Linked DNA regions of Homo sapiens: regions 1, 3, 4, 5 and 6 are each linked to region 2. The links are contacts of gene promoters, found by promoter capture Hi-C in blood cells and fetal thymus (Javierre and others, 2016). All regions are on one chromosome and are shown on one strand. Each heading gives the region's core, a stretch centred on a gene start or on the middle of the fragment in contact. The rest is flanking DNA. Distances are from core to core; before and after follow the strand shown.

Region 1 (2,836 bases), core at 195-2,694, 550 kb after region 2:
TTCTTCTAGGTCATCTAATGAAAAAGAGATAAAGTATGCACATACAAAATTAAGAATGACAAAAGTGAAGTAATCATAGAAATACATTAAAATTCTAGTATAAAAATACTATTTATAATCCTATGTGAATAAGTTTTTAAATCTCAGAAAAATCTATTATTTTCTAGGATAAATAATATCTAAAAACATTATTGAGCACTCATTATGTGCCAGAACCAGTGCAAGGTACTTTATCTCTGAATCCTCACGCTGGTCCTGTTAGGGCCCTCGGAGGCTTTCGTTTTAACCATTTAACAGGTGAGGAAACTAAGAACTAGGGAGGTGACACAGTTTCCCCATCATATGGAAAATGAGAGAGCCAAAATCTTAAACTGGATTTGTCTAATTCCAGTGCCTGCGCATTTAAACGCTGAGCTATGTTAGAAAAAGAAGCAAAAATTCTAAAGACGTAGAAAACCTAAAGAATCCAATAAATACAGAAGAAATAAGAGACGTTACCAAAGACTTATCCCAGGATAGTTACATACGTGAGTTCTTTCAAGCTTTCGTGGACTAAATCATTCAAATAATGCATATATGGTACAGAACATAGAAAAAGATGGAATGTTCCCTAATTTATTTTACAAAGTCAGCATAACTTTGACACCCAAATTCAACAACAAATAGATTTGGAAAATTCTAAATGAAATATTAGCCCAGCAAATCTTGTAGTGTATTAAAACAACAATACACCATAATCAAGTAGAATTCAATCAAAAATGTTTCAAAGTTACGAAACATTAGCTTATTGTATCAACAGATCAACAGAGAAAAACAACATGATATCTGCAGATATCAAAAAAGCATTTCATAAAATTCTAACTCCAATCCTGATTTAAAGTCTTATATTAACTAGGTATAAATACTTCATTTATTTAAAAAATCTCAACTAAAAAATGATTTGCAACCATACTTAAAAGTGAACCAGAAACAAGACAAGATTTCTGTTATCAATAATATAATGTTTTAGAAGATCTAGTCAAAGGAAAAGAAATAGATGAGATAAAGTGACAGACAAAAATTGCATTATATATAGATATGAATGACCCTTTTTTTTTGACATGGAGTTTCGCTCTTGTCACCCAGGCTGGAGTCCAGTGGCACAATCTCGGCTCACTGCAACCTCCGCCTCCCGGGTTCAAGCAATTCTCCTGCCTCAGCCTCCTGAGTAGCTGGGATTACAGGCACCCACCACCATGCCCAGCTAAGTTTTTTGTATTTTTGGTAGAGCCAGGGTTTCGCCATGTTGGGCAGGCTGGTCTCGAACTCCTGACCTCAGGTGATCCGCCCACCTGGGCCTCCCAAAGTGCTGGGATTACAGGCGTTAGCCACCATGCCCAGCCATGAATGACTCTTTACCTAGAAGTTCCAAAACACTCAACTAGAAACTTGTAGAACAAATTAGAGAATTCAGTGAGATGAACAGTAACAATAAATATACAGACATTTCCCTACATACCAATAACAACCAGTTAGAAAATATAAAGAAAGTGGATCAAATTCACAATAGAAGCCATACTTAATTCCTTGAGATAAAAATAACAAATTGTGAATCTGTCGAATTTGACAACTTATGAATATATATGTATACATAAAACTCAAAATATCATGCAAAGCCTGTTTCAAAAAATATCAACTCTCTTTAAATTAATTGACAGTTTTATAAGGTTCCACACAATATCCATAAAGAATGTTTTTAACTTTACAATATCACTACAGTTCATCTGAAAGAATATACAAATAAGACTAACGGAGAAAATCTTGAAAAATAAGAATTAAGGAAGACTATTGCTACTGAGTAATAACACATTTTAACAATACAATATACTAAAATAAAGCAATGACAAAGCAATGGATAATAGAAAACCAGAACAAGAACCCGAGCTATAAAAGTATCTAGCATGTATTAAATGTGGAAGTGGAACAAATAGTTATTTCTCACAATAATTAAGATGATAAGTAAAGATTCAAATATAAAAGATGAAATCATGAAAGAACTAAAAAAAAAATTAAAGTTCAGTTTGGGAAAGGACTTTCTGAGCTAAAAGAAAAATTCAAGTGAAGAAACTGTAAGGAAAAATTAAAGATAAATTTTTAGAACATAGTAATTTTTAAAATAAAAAATAATTTATCAACAAAATGAAATGGCAGATGAAAAAGTGGGGGATCCTGGTAACATATGATATAAAAAGAGTTACTATTCTTGTTAAAAAGGCCTTACAAAATCAAAATTAAAAATGAACACACCTACAGAGCAACATGGGTAAACGATTTCCAGTTCTAAGTGGTAAACTGAACAAAGCTTGCCTGCTCTGCAGGGAGAAAAAAGTTTCAAAAGACCTATTATTAATATTATCAGAGATATTAAAGAAGCAATTGCATTCATAAAACAAATTGTTATATAATATTTAGAATATAATTTAAAAATTAAAAATTAGAAATATGAAAGCAGAAATGAAAATAAGTTAAAACATAAAGATAGGGAAATCCTTCTTAGAAACAGAACATGAATATTAAAAGTTGAAAATCAAAGGAAAAATATGGGAATATTACAAAACTAGTCAGGAGTTCCAACATACAAACAATAGAAATGCTAGGAAGAGAGAGGCTGGGCACGGTGGCTCATGCCTGTAATCCCAGCACTTTGGGAGGCCAAGGTGGGTGGATCACTTGAGGTCAGGAGTTCAAGACCAGCCTGGCCAACATGATGAAACCCCATCTCTACCAAAAATACACATATTAGCCAGGCGTGGTGGCACACGCCTGTAATCCTAGCTACTTGGGAGGCTGAGGCAGG
Region 2 (2,750 bases), core at 117-2,616:
GTCATCGGGAGGCACCTCCTCGCCTTCACTGTTGAGCTCCACTTCGGGCTCGGGCTGCCCCCGGCGGCGGCGGCCCAGGAAATGCTTGCGGATACACAAGAAATCGAGAAGCCAGAGCATGAAGGCCGTGCCGAGGAAGCGCGGGAAGAGCACGAGGCACGAGGCGGTCTGGGCGCAGAGCCTCAAGGAGTGAAGCAGCAGGGAGCGGAGCATGGTGGCTGCAGGCCCCGAAGCCCCCTGGGACCCCTCGCCCTCTCCGACCACCAACCGCGACGTGGCCTGGCGAGGCATCTGGGCTTCAGCAGTGCAGGGAGTTCAATTTATAGCGGAGGCTTCAATTGGCGGGAGACTCCACCTCCGGCCCGGCCCGCCCCCTTGCAACTTGAGCCCGGAGGGATCACCCAGCAGCGCGGCCAATGCCCTAGAAATCTTGGGCTGAGGGCGGGCGCAGGCGGGCGGAGGGCGGAGCGGCCGGGCCTGGGGCCGGTGGGGGCGGGCCCGGGCCCCGCAGCCAGCTCTCGGGGGCGGGGGACTCCGGCAGCCGCTGCCGCTGGGGACCGGGAGCCCGACCAGGGACCTGGGCGTCCGCTGGGGAGGTCCTCCAGCTGGCGCGAGCGCTGCGCGCCGCCCTGGTCCCCGCCGCCTGGCTCCGGCCCGCGCCCCCCTCGCCGCGCACCTGAGCCGAGCTCCCCGGCGGCCGCCGAGCCGCGCCGGAGCTCCGGTTCGCTTCCCGCGCGCCGCCGCCAACGCCGCCCACGCCGCTGCCGCTCGTGCGGGGCCGCTGCCCAGGTGCCGCGGGAGGCCGGGTCCGCGGCCGCCGCTTCGGTGGCCCCGGCTCCCGCCCCACCGAGGACGCGGGCCAGCGAGGAGGCAACTTTGCGTTCCCGCCGCCTTCCTGGCTCGCCCGCGGGCGCCGCTCGCCTGCCGGAGCCCGCCCGCCCGCCTCCCGCGCGCGCTCACACTCGCGCCTCGCACACGGCCGCCCCCCGCACCGCCCCGCCACGCACACCGCGCTCCGCGCCCCCCGCCGCTGCCCGAGGCTGCCGCGCGCCGCCCCAGCCCGCGCCGCCCTGGCCGCGCCCGCCCCGTCCCATCTCGTTCCAGCGGGGCGCCGCGGTTCCTGGGTCAGCGGCCGCCGGGGCCGGGCTGAGAGGTGCGGAGGGCAGAGCCCGCGGGCGGGTTACCGCCGGGCGCCGGAGACCGGAGAGCTGGGGAAAGCGGCGCCGGCCCTGCGCCCCCAGCCGACCCGGGCGCGGGGCGCCACGGGCGTGGGGCGCGGGGCAGCGGGCGCGGGGCGGCGCCGGCCCCGGGCGGCTCTCCCACTAGGGGTAGCTGTTGCCTGAACGCCGGAGCGCTCCCCTCTCGCCGCTTGCCTCGCCCAGCGCAGCCCCGGCCGCTGGGCGCACCCGTCCCGTTCGTCCCCGGACGTTGCTCTCTACCCCGGGAACGTCGAGACTGGAGCGCCCGAACTGAGCCACCTTCGCGGACCCCGAGAGCGGCGGCGCGACTCACCGCGGAGGCGCCCGGACGCGTCAAGTGCGTACTTTCAACCGTAAATGGGTGCTGAGCGTTTAGGGGTGCGGGGCAACTCCCTAACTCGTGGGGCCCTGGCCGGCCCTGCCGCGGCGTCCGAGACCTTCTGATCCCTCGCTGCGCGCGGCGCGGGGTTGGCGACTTGGGCTCAGGGGCGGCGGGGCGGGGAGGTGCCTTGACCTAGGGACCCAGAGGCCGGGAGCAAGTCTCCTTTCGCCTTGGACTGCAGTGTCCCCCAGGGCAAGGCCTGAACCAGGTCGCGAGGGTCTGTCTCCCGTCTGGGGAGCTGAACTGCCCGAGACACTGTCGCAGTCGCGGGGACTTGTCTGGAGCGGCGGGGTCTGAGCCCAAGTCGGAAGCCGCCGCCGCCGCCAGCGTCCCGTGCGCCTGCCGCCCCGGGACCAGCCGCGAAACTTCTTCTCGGGACGGAGACAGCGCTCGCCGCCCGGGCCGAGGTAGGAGCTGGCTGGGCTCGGTAGAGCGCGGGCGAATCGCTTTCGGCAGCGAAGGAACGTGTCGGGAGAAGCCAACTGCAGGACCAGGGCCCCAGCGGGCGCGCAGAGACGCCTGCCTTGGGCGGAGGTCCCCCCCTCCGGTTTTCGTGGCTCTGGTAGGGCCCTCTGTCCCGTGAGCTCCTCACTGGACCTGAGGCTACAGGCTTCAGCAGGTCAAGCGCCCGAGTGTGCCTGGAGGATTGGCGGCGGGGTGGCATGAGAAGGTGGCCCCTCTTCTCCATCTCCCAGTCAGGCGATTTCTCTGCTGTCTGGGGCAGGGGCGCACACCCCAGGAACTTACTACGTAGAGGGAAGCCAGCCTGGTCTCTCCCCCTTGCGTCAGTGCTCCTAAGCTGCCCCTCACCACTCTGGGTAGGGGTCTTTCAGGTGGGCTAGGGAATTCTCCTTGGAAGTCCCCTTGTTTGCTCCCCTCCATCAGGGCACCTCTGAGTTAGCCAATCATCCTCTTTTCTGGCCTCTTTTTTGCGGGGAGGAGAGTAGAGAGAGAAGCCTCCTACTCGGCAGGTCTCTGAGAGGAGGTTTGGGGGGGCTTCTGAGGTTGCTCCTCCTGGGCAGAGTCAAGGGGTGTTGAGGGTTCCAACTTTTACTGGACAATCTCTCAAGCTCTGATTCCCTGATTTCTGGGAGGTGTCAGTGTAGGGCTTGTGTCCTGCCCCACCCACACAGCATTTGGTGCAGGCACATGGGATGGTTCCCCAAGCC
Region 3 (3,023 bases), core at 245-2,744, 710 kb after region 2:
GAATCTCCTAAACACTACTTTCTCTGAGGGCTGCCTGGCTGGTTCCTTGAATGCCTCCAGTGAGCTATGGGCTCCCTACATCCCAAGGACATCTGGGACCAGTCTCTTCAGAAAGCCATGACCCAAAGGACTTGGACAAACAGTTCACAGAAGATAAAATACAATTTGTTAACAAACATAGGTCAAAGTGTTCACCCATCATTAGTAATTAAAGCAATGCAAGTTAAAGTAATGCAAAAGTACTTTATAACAGAGACAAACTAGCCATATCTTAATTAAGTGGTCATACATTGCTGAACATTGTAAAATGCTGTAAGCTTACTGAAATTATTCAACATCCATACAAAGATCCATAGCCTTTCTTTCAAGAGACTTAACCAAAGGAAATTCATTCATTCATTCACCAATCCATCCTTCCGCCTATCCTTCCACCCTCTTATCCATCAGCCAAACACTCACTCACTCGCTCCTTCCTCCATTCTTCCATCCACTCATTCATCATTTATTTATAGTCTACAACATGTTGGGCATCAGAGATACAAAGGCCAATTCAATAAGCTCCTTGCCCTTATGGGGCTCACAGTCTAGCAGGGGAAACTGATCTGTAGTGAAGCAATGATAATTTCTGGGTGGAAGAACATAATTCTTAAGAATGAAAAAAAGGGTGTTTTAAGCAGTTAGTTGTGGCATTATTCATAATATTTTTAAAAGGTGGTTATACATAAGAATAACAGAATGGTTCTGTGAATGATGCCATAGCCACTCAACAAGGCACAACGCAGCAAGTGAGGTTATGAAGATTCATGGAACAAGGGAAAATGTTGATGACAGAAAATTAAATAGAAGAGGCAGGATACAAAAAAAAAAAAGTGTATGTGGTGAATAATGGCAATTAGGTTTTTTTAAAGAAGGGATGCTCATTAAAGAATAGACACTCTTTTTTTAAAAAAAGTATGCCTGTAAGAATGTAAAATGGGTGACATGTCAGAATGTTGAGTGGTGCATGCATTTCCCACTGCTCTAGGTCAAGTGCCATCCACACCATTTATATTAGGAACACAACGGGACACAGCAGGATTCGTGGCCTGTCTATCCCAGAGGTCCTGAGGCCAAGCTTCCCAAGGAGGGAGTTGGGAGTCACAAGAGGAGGCCAAGGAGAGTTGTAGCTCCTGGTGTCACCAGGAAAGGATTTGTGTGTGGGGAGCATGCAAATGACAATGTCAAGAGACAGAATTAATTCTCATTGTTAAAAGTTTAACGAACACATAAAGATAGGCCCTGACCAGACAGGAGCACTAGGATCCCAACTCGGACCTTGTGGGTCTGGTACAGAAAGAACCGGGTAGGGAGCACGTGAAGGATGTTTTATCTCTGGCTTTTGTGCCATTAGGAACCCTATCCCGAATCTCAGCATCCCAGAACTAAAGAACCTTTGAATTACAGATACAAAACTCTTAAGGGTCAAAACCCTAAGAGCCCTGATCCCCCCTCATGGCCTCCACATTTCCAAAAGGACACACAGAATTCATCCAACCCAAACCCACCCAGCCTCCAGGGCACCAGTGGGTCTCCCCAGAGCTGCTCTCATTGGCTCAGTTCGACCCACTGTGACCCGTCAGGACAGCCCCTAGATGTTGGGAGCAGGCTCTCCTAGCAGCCAACGTCGCTTGTTCCTTCCAATTTCCTCTTGGTGCATGCAATGGGCCCTCCCTTCCCCGCCTTCTGCACACTTTAAGTCTTCCTGAGCCTCTGCTGACTTTTTTTAACAGCCGTACATGAGTTCTTTTGAAAGACCCTCCCGGTCTTCTTCTGCCCTGAACCCCTCCCGCCCCATCCTCATCCAACAGTGACACAGCTTGTCAGGGAGAAGCTTCAGCAGGTGTCCCCAGGGATAATAAGTGCACCCCCAGACCTCAGTCCAGCCAAGGCATAGCCTGGAGCCCCAGATTCTGAAAGAGAAGAAGAGCAGACCCCTGAGGCCCCAGCACCACATCAGGCCCACGAGGCCCAGCTCATGTGGCCCTGACACGTGGTACTGGAGGCTCGGAAGGTGGCTCCTGACACATGAATTCCATGTCCTCCGCCTTCCAAATGCTGTTGCCATCCACTCGGCCGGAGCTAGAAGCGTGGGAACCACCCCCTTCTTCTTGCCTCCCTCCCTCCTTCATATCCTGTCTATAACCCCATAGCTTTGATTCCTGAGCACCCCACTTTGCTGCCATCAGCTCAGACCTCAAGCATCACACTAGCTAACAGCCCCATCCATGCCTGCGCCCGCACTCCCCATCCCACCCAGCGTCTACAGAGTCACTCTGAGCATGACGCCTCCCACTCCAGATGGCCTGGCCCCACCCCACTCCCCTGCCTCCCACGTGCTCCCTGCCACAAGTCCTGAGTCCATCCAAGCTGTGCTCCTACTGCTCCGGGCGCTTGTTAAGAATCCAGTGTTTTTATATGTCCCAAATAGGAATTGAGAGGTCAACAAGGGAGACTTTGGTCCTTGCTTTTACAGACAAACACAGGCACACAACACAAAACTACACACATTTCCTCCACTACAGAGAAAGGAGACTCAACAGAACCGGGGAGGCCCTGGGGGAGGACTGTCAGCACGAGCAACTCTCCAGATTTACCCCGGCAGTCCCCCGGAGGGCGAGTCAGAGAAGAGACAACCTCGACACAGCGAAACGCAATCCCGCCAAGTTACAAAACACGTCGTGAAACAGCCGAGAAGACAGAGAGGCCTTGAACCAGGCTCTGGGGATGGCATGTCAAGGAAGCCAGGGTCCCCGGACCACTTCTGCAACCCCAGGGGTGCTGAGGTGCACCTGCTGCCCAGGGAAACCTGAGTTGAGAAGGGTGGGCGCCCTGCCCCATGGAAGACCAGGCCAGAGGGTGGCCTGGGCACACTGCAGAGAGTTGCAAGAACAAGGTTTCTGGTGGCTTGCCCAGGGCTCCTGGGTCCCGGGGCTTCTGGGTCCCCCTTCTCAGGTGCGCCTGGCCACCTTCTGGCCTTTCCCTGC
Region 4 (2,780 bases), core at 113-2,612, 670 kb after region 2:
TAGAACCCTTGACCTCAAGTGTTCCACCTGCCTTGGCCTCCCAAAGTGCTGGGATTACAGCTGTGAGTCACCGTGCCTGGCTCATTAAGAGATTTTTAAGGCAGTAACATGGCAGAAATTTTGTCTTGGGTAGAGTAGTCAGAGAAATTTTATAGTAAAATGTATTGTTCTATGCTAAAAATAATTAGACCTTATCTCATAGGTAATTAAGAGATAGAATAAAGCTTTAAGCAGAAGTTATAAGAGCAAATTCGTGTATCTTGCAAGGGAGAGTGACCTTTTTATTTTGAGGAATGACATGGTCAGAATTTTATATCATGCGAAGAGGTTTGGAATTAAGCCAATAAAGGGTTTTAGGAGTGACCTGATGAGATTTGGGGGTTCGTATTAATCAGTTGGCAAGTAAATTACACGGTGAAAATTTTCATTTTATGCTAAGTGGTTGAAACTTTACAGGCAATAAAAATGAATTTTTATATGTGTTAAATAGAGAAATTATGAGATGACCTTTATTCATCTTGCTAACAGTTTAAACTTTGATGTTAAGAAGTATTAAGATTTTTCTAACATGCCGAGGATATTAGATTTTGAGCTGAAGGCAGGAACATTGAAGGATTTAATCATTCACATGGTCGAATTTGTAAATATGTTAAGCAGTGTAGACTTTATATTAAGAGGGGGCATAATCTAGTTTTTAAATCGTCTTGCTAAGAAATTTAAATTTTCACCAATAAAGAGTTTTAAGTGAGAGACATGCTGAGATTTTTATTCCTGATAGATAAGTCTGCAGATGAATTACTTAGTTTTTGTATTTCAATTAGAATTATTTATTTGTATTTCAATTAGAATTTTATATTAGAGGTTTGGAATTTTACAGTAATAATGCATATCTCAGAGGACTTTTATGGAGAGGAAATGAGTTAATTTCTGCAATGTGCTATGTACATCATGATGATGATGATGATGATTCTTATAATTCCTATACCATGCTGATTTGTATACTGTGCTTTAAAAAAATGTGATCTCTACCTTGAGGAATGACAAAATAAGAATTTTATATTATATTAAGGCCCTTACATTTTAACCAGAGAATAGTTTTGGTGAGTTTACATGTCAGATATGTTTACGCTAGAAGGTTTGGATTTAATATTGCAGACAGTAAATAAACAGTGGAAGGCTTTAATCAGAGAGACTGCATGATCAAATTTAAGTGTCATGCTAACAAGGGTGTACTTAATTTTGAGAAACAGCAGATCTGAATTTTGTATCCTGTTGGAAAGCTTGGATTTTAGCCAATGAGTTTCACGTAAGGGGGAACGCAGTTTTTTTTTTTTTTTTTACGGATGGGTCCAGTGGCTTAGAAGAAAACTCAGAAGTAACAAAAGGTGTTAAATTTATAAAGAGCAGTAGCTTTACAGTTAATCTATCAGATAATCAAAGCTTAATTTGCTCTGCCCCAGCAGAGAAGAAATGTGCAAATAACCCCAACCAAGACATTCCCTTTCAATTCTGTCTCAGCCCACTAAAACCACCCAACACTAGATTTCCAAAAATCCACTCTGGGACCGTCAGATTCCAAAGATGTCACATGTTCCCCCCAACCCCCACACTCAATGTCCCAACTCTGCCAGATACATGTCTGTTGGGAGGGCTCAACCAGCAACAGAGAGAAAAAGATATTTGCTAGAAAGAGGAGACCAGACCCACTGGCGTTAAGAAGGGGACCTGGGAGGATAAGATTGGAGAGGCGTGCAGATATGCTTGCACTGGTGAAATTGAGGCCAGATGTGTGAAGTTCCAGAAGCCTCACAAAGAGGGCAGTCCTGGGAGAGTGGAGATTGTAGGAAGAGAAGGAGATTATTTGAAGATCTCCTCAACAGCTCAGAGGTCGGGAGAACATAGCATTGGAAGGAGACCAAATCGAGAAAGAGAAATTGGCCAAAAGTCTGAGTTAGAATCAAGTAACAAATATGCAGTTATCCAGCACATAGTAGGTATGTTATAAAATTTATGGAAAAAAAAAAAAAAAACCCAGACCTGTACACACCCCCTGAAATTTCTATTTTGAACATGGGGAAGGAAATAAGAACTATTTTGGGCTGCTGACCCAACTGACGGGACAGTGGCCAAGTGCCCATTTTCTCCTCTTCCACTGCACTGGTGAAACAGTAGGCATCTTTGCTAGAGATTCCCGCTCCACAACCAAGGTGGCTGGGCTTGCTCCAGAGCCCTGAGCCTGCCAGGGGTGGCTTTGGATGGTGCTGAGATGTGACCTCTGTGATTCTCAGGTGACCAAAGCAGGAAAAGAGGATTGACCAGGTGCATGTGCCAGGGGGGAATGGAGCAGCCTGTGCACCCTGCCAGGTACCCGCCTGCCACGGTGGCTGCTCCCAGCCACAGAATTTATGGGCTGTGAATTTCTCACATCTATGGAGGAAAAGGACAGGACAGGCAGACTGAATAAGCCTGGGAGGCAGGTCAGGGGTTGACAGATCTTCCCTCCCTGGGGGCACCCCAAGTGACCAGCCAAAGAGGCTGGCTCGATACAAGAAGGCTTTCCCCCATTTCTCTCTGCTCTGATTAGTTGGGCATCTGATTTGTCCTTGAGACCCTGATACTGCCACTTCACAAGATCCTAAACTACTGCCTTTACTCCCCACACTCCCCTTCCACCACCAGGTTCTGATCTCCACGGTCCCAGCTACTGACTGGACGCCATCACAACCTTACCAATCTTCAGAATACACTCCTTTCCATCCGACGAAATGATAGAACCCTCT
Region 5 (2,700 bases), core at 51-2,550, 650 kb after region 2:
AATTAAATACCTTGTCCAAACTCACAAAAGTAGTCAATGGCAAAGCTGAGATTGAAACCTTAGCACCTAGAATGTGTGAAGTAGGGCCTAGCCCATGAGCAGGTTCTCAAAACCTATCTGCTAATGTTAACCCAGGTCTGCAGCAAGGCTTACTGATTCGCCATTCAGCCCTACATCCAGTCCCCTCCCTCCTTGCCTTGCACTGGAGTCATTTTTACATCTACTACCATTAGCATTCAGTCAGAATATGAGATGCCAGGAATCTAATTTGACTTGATTAATTGTACTGTAGGATGCCAGTGATATGTGTGGCCCTTGCCTGTGTGATCATTACAAATAGAATACACTAGAGATATTACTTGGGAAATAAGCTTGGATTTGATTGGATGAGAAGTTCAGCTCACTGACAGACCAAGAGAGTGAGTCCAATATGAGACAACCCCAAGGCAGATTTCTTCAGACATGGTCATAGAGAAAAGGAAATAAACAGGTTGAGGGGATGAGTTTGGAAGGAAAGAAGACTCGAGTTCAAATCCTGGGTCTGCATTTCCTCCTTATACGATTTTGGGTAAGTCACTTACCACTCCTAAACTTCGGTTTCCTTTTCACTTAATTGAGAATAGAAATTGCTATCATGGAGGGTGGCTGTGATGATTTAGAGGAGATAAAATTATGCCAAGTGCCAGTGAAGGGCTGAGTATGCGGTTGGGGCTTAGGGCTTAGTCATCCAGGAGAGCCAGTGGAAAGGCGGATGCCTGCTCTTCGTCAGTGCTGCGTGAAAGCAGCAGAGACGGAGAGTTGCCACTGAGCAGCTCCAGCACCACAGCTGGGACTTGGTCCCTGTAAGCTGGCATCCCACCTGTTGTCCCAGAGCCACCTGAGCCAGTCAGTGCGCTCAGAAGCAGAACAGAAGGCAGGAGCTTCACCAGCAAGCTCCATTCAGAGGGAACCTCTCTTCAAAGATCAAGTAAGCCTTTGATCTTGGTGGGAAATTGACTATCCTCTCTCATTCCTCTCTCCTTCCACCACCTGTGCTTCAATTCACTCATCCATCTTACCAGCATTCATGAGGTAGCCAGCCATCTCTCCATCTATGCATGTATCTTGATGTAGGCATCCATCCATCCATCAGACCTGACATCCATCCTTCCACCTCTCCATTTTGCAGAGGAATCACACAGACCTGAGTTGGAATCCTGGGTCTTGCTTCCTAGCCGACCTCGAGCAAGTCACTAACCTCTCCAAGTCCTCTAATCTGTAAAATGAAGGGAAATCAGATGTCGCTGGGATGAGGATTTAAAGAGAGCGTAGACATACCAGTGTCTGGCCTCAGCAAAGTCATTAAATGTTCATTCCCTCTGCTTCTGCAATCTGGTTGGGATTTATGCAAGGAAATAAACCACCGCATCTTTTGCATGACATGTTGAGAAGTGCTTTTTAGAAATTATCTGCGATGTTTTAGTGGTGTGCATCTTCCGGTGGCACCCAGGGCTGGGCAGTGGCCAAAGCAGTTTGGGGTGGTGGTCCCCCCTGGACTCACAGTAGAGAGTGCCATCTAGTGGATAGGCACCTGCCGGGGTCCCCTGTTGGTCCCAGGTCACAACAGCTGAGGTCAGGCAGCTAAACGGCAAGCCAGGAGGTCCAGGCGAACCCAGCCCCCAGACTGTAGGCTGCCCTTTTTGGGATGTAGTGCATGTGCTGTTTTAACCACTCAGGGGACCTGGACTGCCAGGAGCCTTTTGTTTTATGGACAATAGCCAGCTATGTTTTGCCTGCCCCTGCCCAAATCCCCTTTAAACGTTTCTGGGAAAAAGAATCATTCTCGCAGCTACTGTTTGCTGAGTGTCTCTGACATATTAGACATGCGGCTGGGGCTTCAGGGGTTAATGCTCTAACCCTCTCAATGACCCAAGGAGAGACCCAGAACTTGCCCCATTTTCAGTGAGAACACTGAGGTTTGCTGAGGTTGAGTTTCTCATTTAAGGTCCAGGCAGATATTCAACCCCTAAATGTGTAGCCATACTTACCTTCTAGAGCCCCAGATCCCCTTGAAAGAGCAGGAGATAGTTTGAACACTGACTTGACCAAGCCAACTGTAAAAGAAATTTATGAGTCAATCAAGAATATTGGAATGCTACATAGATGGTGGATGATATTAAGGAAAGGCTATTAATTTTTTAACTTGTGATAATGGTGTTGTGGTTTTATTTTTAAGAAACAAAAGCTTCTTATTTAGAGATACAAACTAAAAAATGCTCAGAGGAAACAGGATGGTGTCTGAAATTTGCTTCGAAATAGTCCAGGGGTAGGGGTTGGGCAGTGGGAGTAGAGGGACAGTTTAGGGTTTAGATGAAACAAGAGGGGCCAGGGTTTGACGGCAACCGTGTCCGGGTAATGGCAAGATGAAAATTGAGTAAACAGTAAAAATACGTACTATTTTCTCTACTTTTGTGTTGTTTGCAATTTCCCATAATAAAGGGATTTTTAAATCAACAAGTGAAAATACAGTGCAGAAGATGAAGGGCTGGGGGTGAAGGGTGCCATTTAAAAGAACAGAGGGGCCTGGGGTATGAGAGAAATTTTCTGGAGTAGCAGGGAACTGATTCACAGGGGGCAAATGCCTCAAAGTGAAAAGGGAACTAGAGGGGCTGGATCCAGAGGGAAGAGAATCATTCCACGTTGAGTGGACGGAGGACGATG
Region 6 (2,979 bases), core at 283-2,782, 730 kb after region 2:
GGTGGGAGAATTGCTTGAACCCGGAAGGCAGAGGTTGCAGTGAGCCGAGATCACGCCACTGCACTCCAGCCTGGGCGACAGAGCGAGACTCCATTTCAAAAAAAAGAACTACAAGTTCTGATTCCGGACTCCCAGATGTGAGTTTTAATCTCCTCTCCACTGATTGATCCTGACTAATCACTAGCCCCCTGTGCCCAATTTCAACAGTATGCTGGAGTCAAATCTGAACCCCAAACTATGCCCTCTTAAGGGGGGTCCCTCTGGGATGCCAACATGCATTCACTTCTTCACCTGGCTAGGCATTCCATGAGTATTCACATTGTAGTCACTCCCCTAGGGCTATGCCCAGGAGTTAGTACTTTCCTACCACTTGGTGATCTTGAGTGAGTTTTGGATGTCCTCAATGGGTCCTGAGATGAGTCAGAGGAGAGCTAGAGTTGGGAACTGATCACCAGTGGCCCCCCCAGTCCTCAGCTCTTGAAGAAAGGGAATGAATGCTCTGGCCATTTGCATCTGTGCGAAGGATCGAACAAAGCCACTTTCTACAATGCAACCCTGTCCGACGCCCCCCTTCCCAAAGCTGCCTGCAACTTTCAACCCCGCTGAATGGACTTCGCACTGGGACAGAGGCAAAGACTTAAATGAGAAGCCAAAGAAATGTCGGCTCCATCACCAAAATTAGAAGTGTGGCTTAAGAAGCCACATCGCCCCGGCCCGGCGGTGGCCAGTTCACCTCATTATGATAATCAGTGTGTTTTTCCTTCGCAGACAAAGAAGGATCCTTATGCGACGAATACTGGAATCCAGCAGCTAACCTCATTAACGTCTGCAGCCTCTTCCTTCGACAAGGCCCGAGATTAGCCCTGTGTTCATTAAGGGAAAAGGGCGGAAAGTGGAATAAAACTGAAAAACACCGCCAGGGTAAGGGGGAGGGGAGGCCCTTTTCTGTTAGCCATTCATTCACTGAAATACTTCGTGTACCTTCAGGATTTAATCACCAGCAAAGGGGGCGGTAGGGAGGGGGCAGGGTTTACCAGGATGTGGGAGGTAAAGAGGTTAAACTCGATGGAAGGAGTTAAAAACCCAGAATAGGGTGATTTGATGTGAAAGCTTCCTGGGATTTGTCACTGGGATAATCAATTTAAAACCTTCTTCCCATTTGCTTTCTTTTAGCCCAACTAACGTAAGGGGAAACCGTCTTTGGATGTGTTTTTGGTGGCTTTTAATATTTTCTAAGTCTCCCTTTCCTACTTTTTTTTTGTCTTTAATGTCTTTGTTTAGTTATTCTCTTCTCCTGTCTCTCCTGCACGCTCCTCCCTTTCCACTTCTTTCTTCTCTCTTCGGTCCTCCCCGTGGGAACCTAATGTATACGAAAATCTAGTGGTGCCTCCAGTTGTATTTTCCCATGAATGCTTTATTGACTTTGCTTCAAGCCTTTCAAATGGCATCTGGTGCTTACCTGTGAGACATCCCACCTGACCTGCCAGATAAAGACGATTAACCCTATTTTGAAACTGAGATAAACCTGGCTTGGAAAAGTTTACCTACCCCAAGGTCTCAGCACTAAGTAATTTAACTAGGACTCGAACCCAGGCAGCGACTCCTGACTGCTTAAGACGGCATGGTAAGAAGCAGGTCCAGAAGTCGAGAGACCTGGGTGTGCAAGTTCCTAGGGGATGCTAAGAACGAGAGAAGGGGGAGCAAGTGTCTCTGTGAAGGGAGTGTAAAGACACAGAAGTGAACCGGAGACGCAGAGCCCTGTGAGAGAAGGCATGAAAATGTGTCCTTGTGTCCATGAGCCGAAAACATGACAAGGATTAAGCCACAGAAAAGTCTTTACCTTTGTGAGCGTGCTTCCACGGAGTAGAGCGAGTCAGGAAGCAGTGGGTTGAAGAGGAAATTGGAGGTGAGGAAGGAAGACAGCAAGTGTAGACAGGCCTTTCAAGAAGCTTGGCTGTGAAAGGAAAGACAGAGACTGTAGTGGCTAGAAAAGATGACAGCAGGGACCTGGGAGGCTCCAGGCTGCCGGCACAGCAAAGTCAGAAATGCAGAGGGAGGCCTTCTGGAGGTGGCCGGGACTGAGACAGGTACAATTCTTCCTCTAGAACTCAGGGAACAGGGGTTCAATGATCCAGTGGGGCCCAATCTGTGGAGCCTCTTGACAGCCTCTGTTTCCCTGGGAGTGGCAGTGGCCGGTCCTGGCTCAGGACAGGGAGTTGTGAGGATCAAATGAATGGACGGTTGCAAAAAGTGACAGAAACATTCACTACCATTACTCACTGGGAGCAGGACTCTCGATTTTACAGCCCACTCGAATCTCACTGGGGCCTGGATTTTCACTGACCATAAATTATTCGTCCTGAACATTAAGGATGTAAAAACCACTGGTAAAAGCTCCTGCCAGTCTCTGGAAGACAAAAGGTCCCCTCCTAATAGCCTGGATTAACTCAAAGCAGGTCTCCGCCCACTTCATTTGTCACCGTCCAAGTCATCCTTGCACCTCCATTTGCCACATAATCCAATCAGCCCCTTTCAGAGGCTGGGCAGCTATTGTCTACACTGAGCTGGGCTTCTCTAAAGCAGCCCAAGTTGTTTTTGTCTTGTCCGGACAAAACTGGTTGGCTTAAAACGGGACGAAAGAAATTCCTGGTCAAATGAGGACCCCAATTAGGTTCCAAGAGACTGTTTTCATTATCTTTGTATCAGATACCTAGCCTGGTGCACTGGGCAGATTGTCGGTGCCCCAGAAAATGTTTGTTGAATTAATTCATTTTTATTTATTCTGGAATTTCTTAATTGAACACAAACACACACAGCACCTACTGAGTGCTGTTCTCACTAAGGGAGAATTGGGCTGGACATGTGAGCAAGGAGGGACAGCCTCGGGTGCTTGAGTAGCTCACACTTTCCACAGCAATTTACAAAGCACTTTCATAGTAGTTACAGCATTTGGTCTTCAAAAGCGCCCTGTGGGGTAGA

Evidence for each region. The method cuts DNA at HindIII sites, captures the fragments that hold promoters and counts their contacts. A CHiCAGO score of 5 or more calls a contact.
Region 1: a fragment that was not itself captured here is called in contact with the fragment with the promoter of DIO3OS in region 2 in 1 of 17 cell types (total B cells); the score reaches 5.2 in total B cells.
Region 3: a contact is called between a fragment that was not itself captured here and the fragment with the promoter of DIO3OS in region 2, in 13 of 17 cell types (M0 macrophages, naive CD8 T cells, activated CD4 T cells and 10 more). The highest score is 10.9, in M0 macrophages.
Region 4: a contact is called between a fragment that was not itself captured here and the fragment with the promoter of DIO3OS in region 2, in 11 of 17 cell types (erythroblasts, total CD8 T cells, M0 macrophages and 8 more). The highest score is 8.7, in erythroblasts.
Region 5: a contact is called between a fragment that was not itself captured here and the fragment with the promoter of DIO3OS in region 2, in 5 of 17 cell types (total B cells, M1 macrophages, total CD4 T cells and 2 more). The highest score is 7.0, in total B cells.
Region 6: a fragment that was not itself captured here is called in contact with the fragment with the promoter of DIO3OS in region 2 in 7 of 17 cell types (M1 macrophages, M0 macrophages, activated CD4 T cells and 4 more); the score reaches 11.0 in M1 macrophages.

What each region holds. Positions count from the first base shown.
Region 1 is chr14:101,012,896-101,015,731 of GRCh38, reverse strand. All of the region lies in intron 4 of LOC124903407 (mucin-2-like), which reads right to left. Among named protein-coding and RNA genes, the nearest start is that of MIR379, 7.8 kb to the left of the region's middle. The HindIII fragment of the contact is 1,799 bases long and covers 545-2,343 here.
Region 2 is chr14:101,559,038-101,561,787 of GRCh38, reverse strand. It overlaps DIO3OS (DIO3 opposite strand upstream RNA), which reads left to right and starts at 1,366. Exons shown (of 2, transcript NR_152588.1): 1 at 1,366-1,536. It overlaps DIO3 (iodothyronine deiodinase 3), which reads right to left and starts at 293. Exons shown (of 1, transcript NM_001362.4): 1 at 1-293. The coding sequence starts at 291. MIR1247 (microRNA 1247) reads left to right here and starts at 1,366; the gene lies at 1,366-1,501. The HindIII fragment of the contact is 17,616 bases long and covers 1-2,750 here.
Region 3 is chr14:100,851,426-100,854,448 of GRCh38, reverse strand. The region is part of intron 9 of MEG3 (maternally expressed 3); the gene reads right to left. MIR770 (microRNA 770) reads right to left here and starts at 2,059; the gene lies at 1,962-2,059. The HindIII fragment of the contact is 756 bases long and covers 1,117-1,872 here.
Region 4 is chr14:100,884,774-100,887,553 of GRCh38, reverse strand. It overlaps RTL1 (retrotransposon Gag like 1), which reads left to right. Exons shown (of 4, transcript NM_001134888.3): 4 at 2,680-2,780. The coding sequence starts at 2,766. MIR136 (microRNA 136) reads right to left here; the gene lies at 2,771-2,780. Among named protein-coding and RNA genes, the nearest start is that of MIR136, 1.5 kb to the right of the region's middle. RefSeq lists a silencer at 1,568-1,862. The HindIII fragment of the contact is 160 bases long and covers 1,283-1,442 here.
Region 5 is chr14:100,905,491-100,908,190 of GRCh38, reverse strand. MEG8 (maternally expressed 8, small nucleolar RNA host gene) reads right to left here. Exons shown (of 51, transcript NR_146000.1): 6 at 2,028-2,093; 7 at 1,059-1,255. Among named protein-coding and RNA genes, the nearest start is that of RTL1, 3.1 kb to the right of the region's middle. The HindIII fragment of the contact is 1,853 bases long and covers 374-2,226 here.
Region 6 is chr14:100,830,396-100,833,374 of GRCh38, reverse strand. It overlaps MEG3 (maternally expressed 3), which reads right to left. Exons shown (of 10, transcript NR_190993.1): 4 at 1,841-1,954; 5 at 734-863. Among named protein-coding and RNA genes, the nearest start is that of MEG3, 5.8 kb to the right of the region's middle. RefSeq lists an enhancer at 2,221-2,722. The HindIII fragment of the contact is 839 bases long and covers 1,113-1,951 here.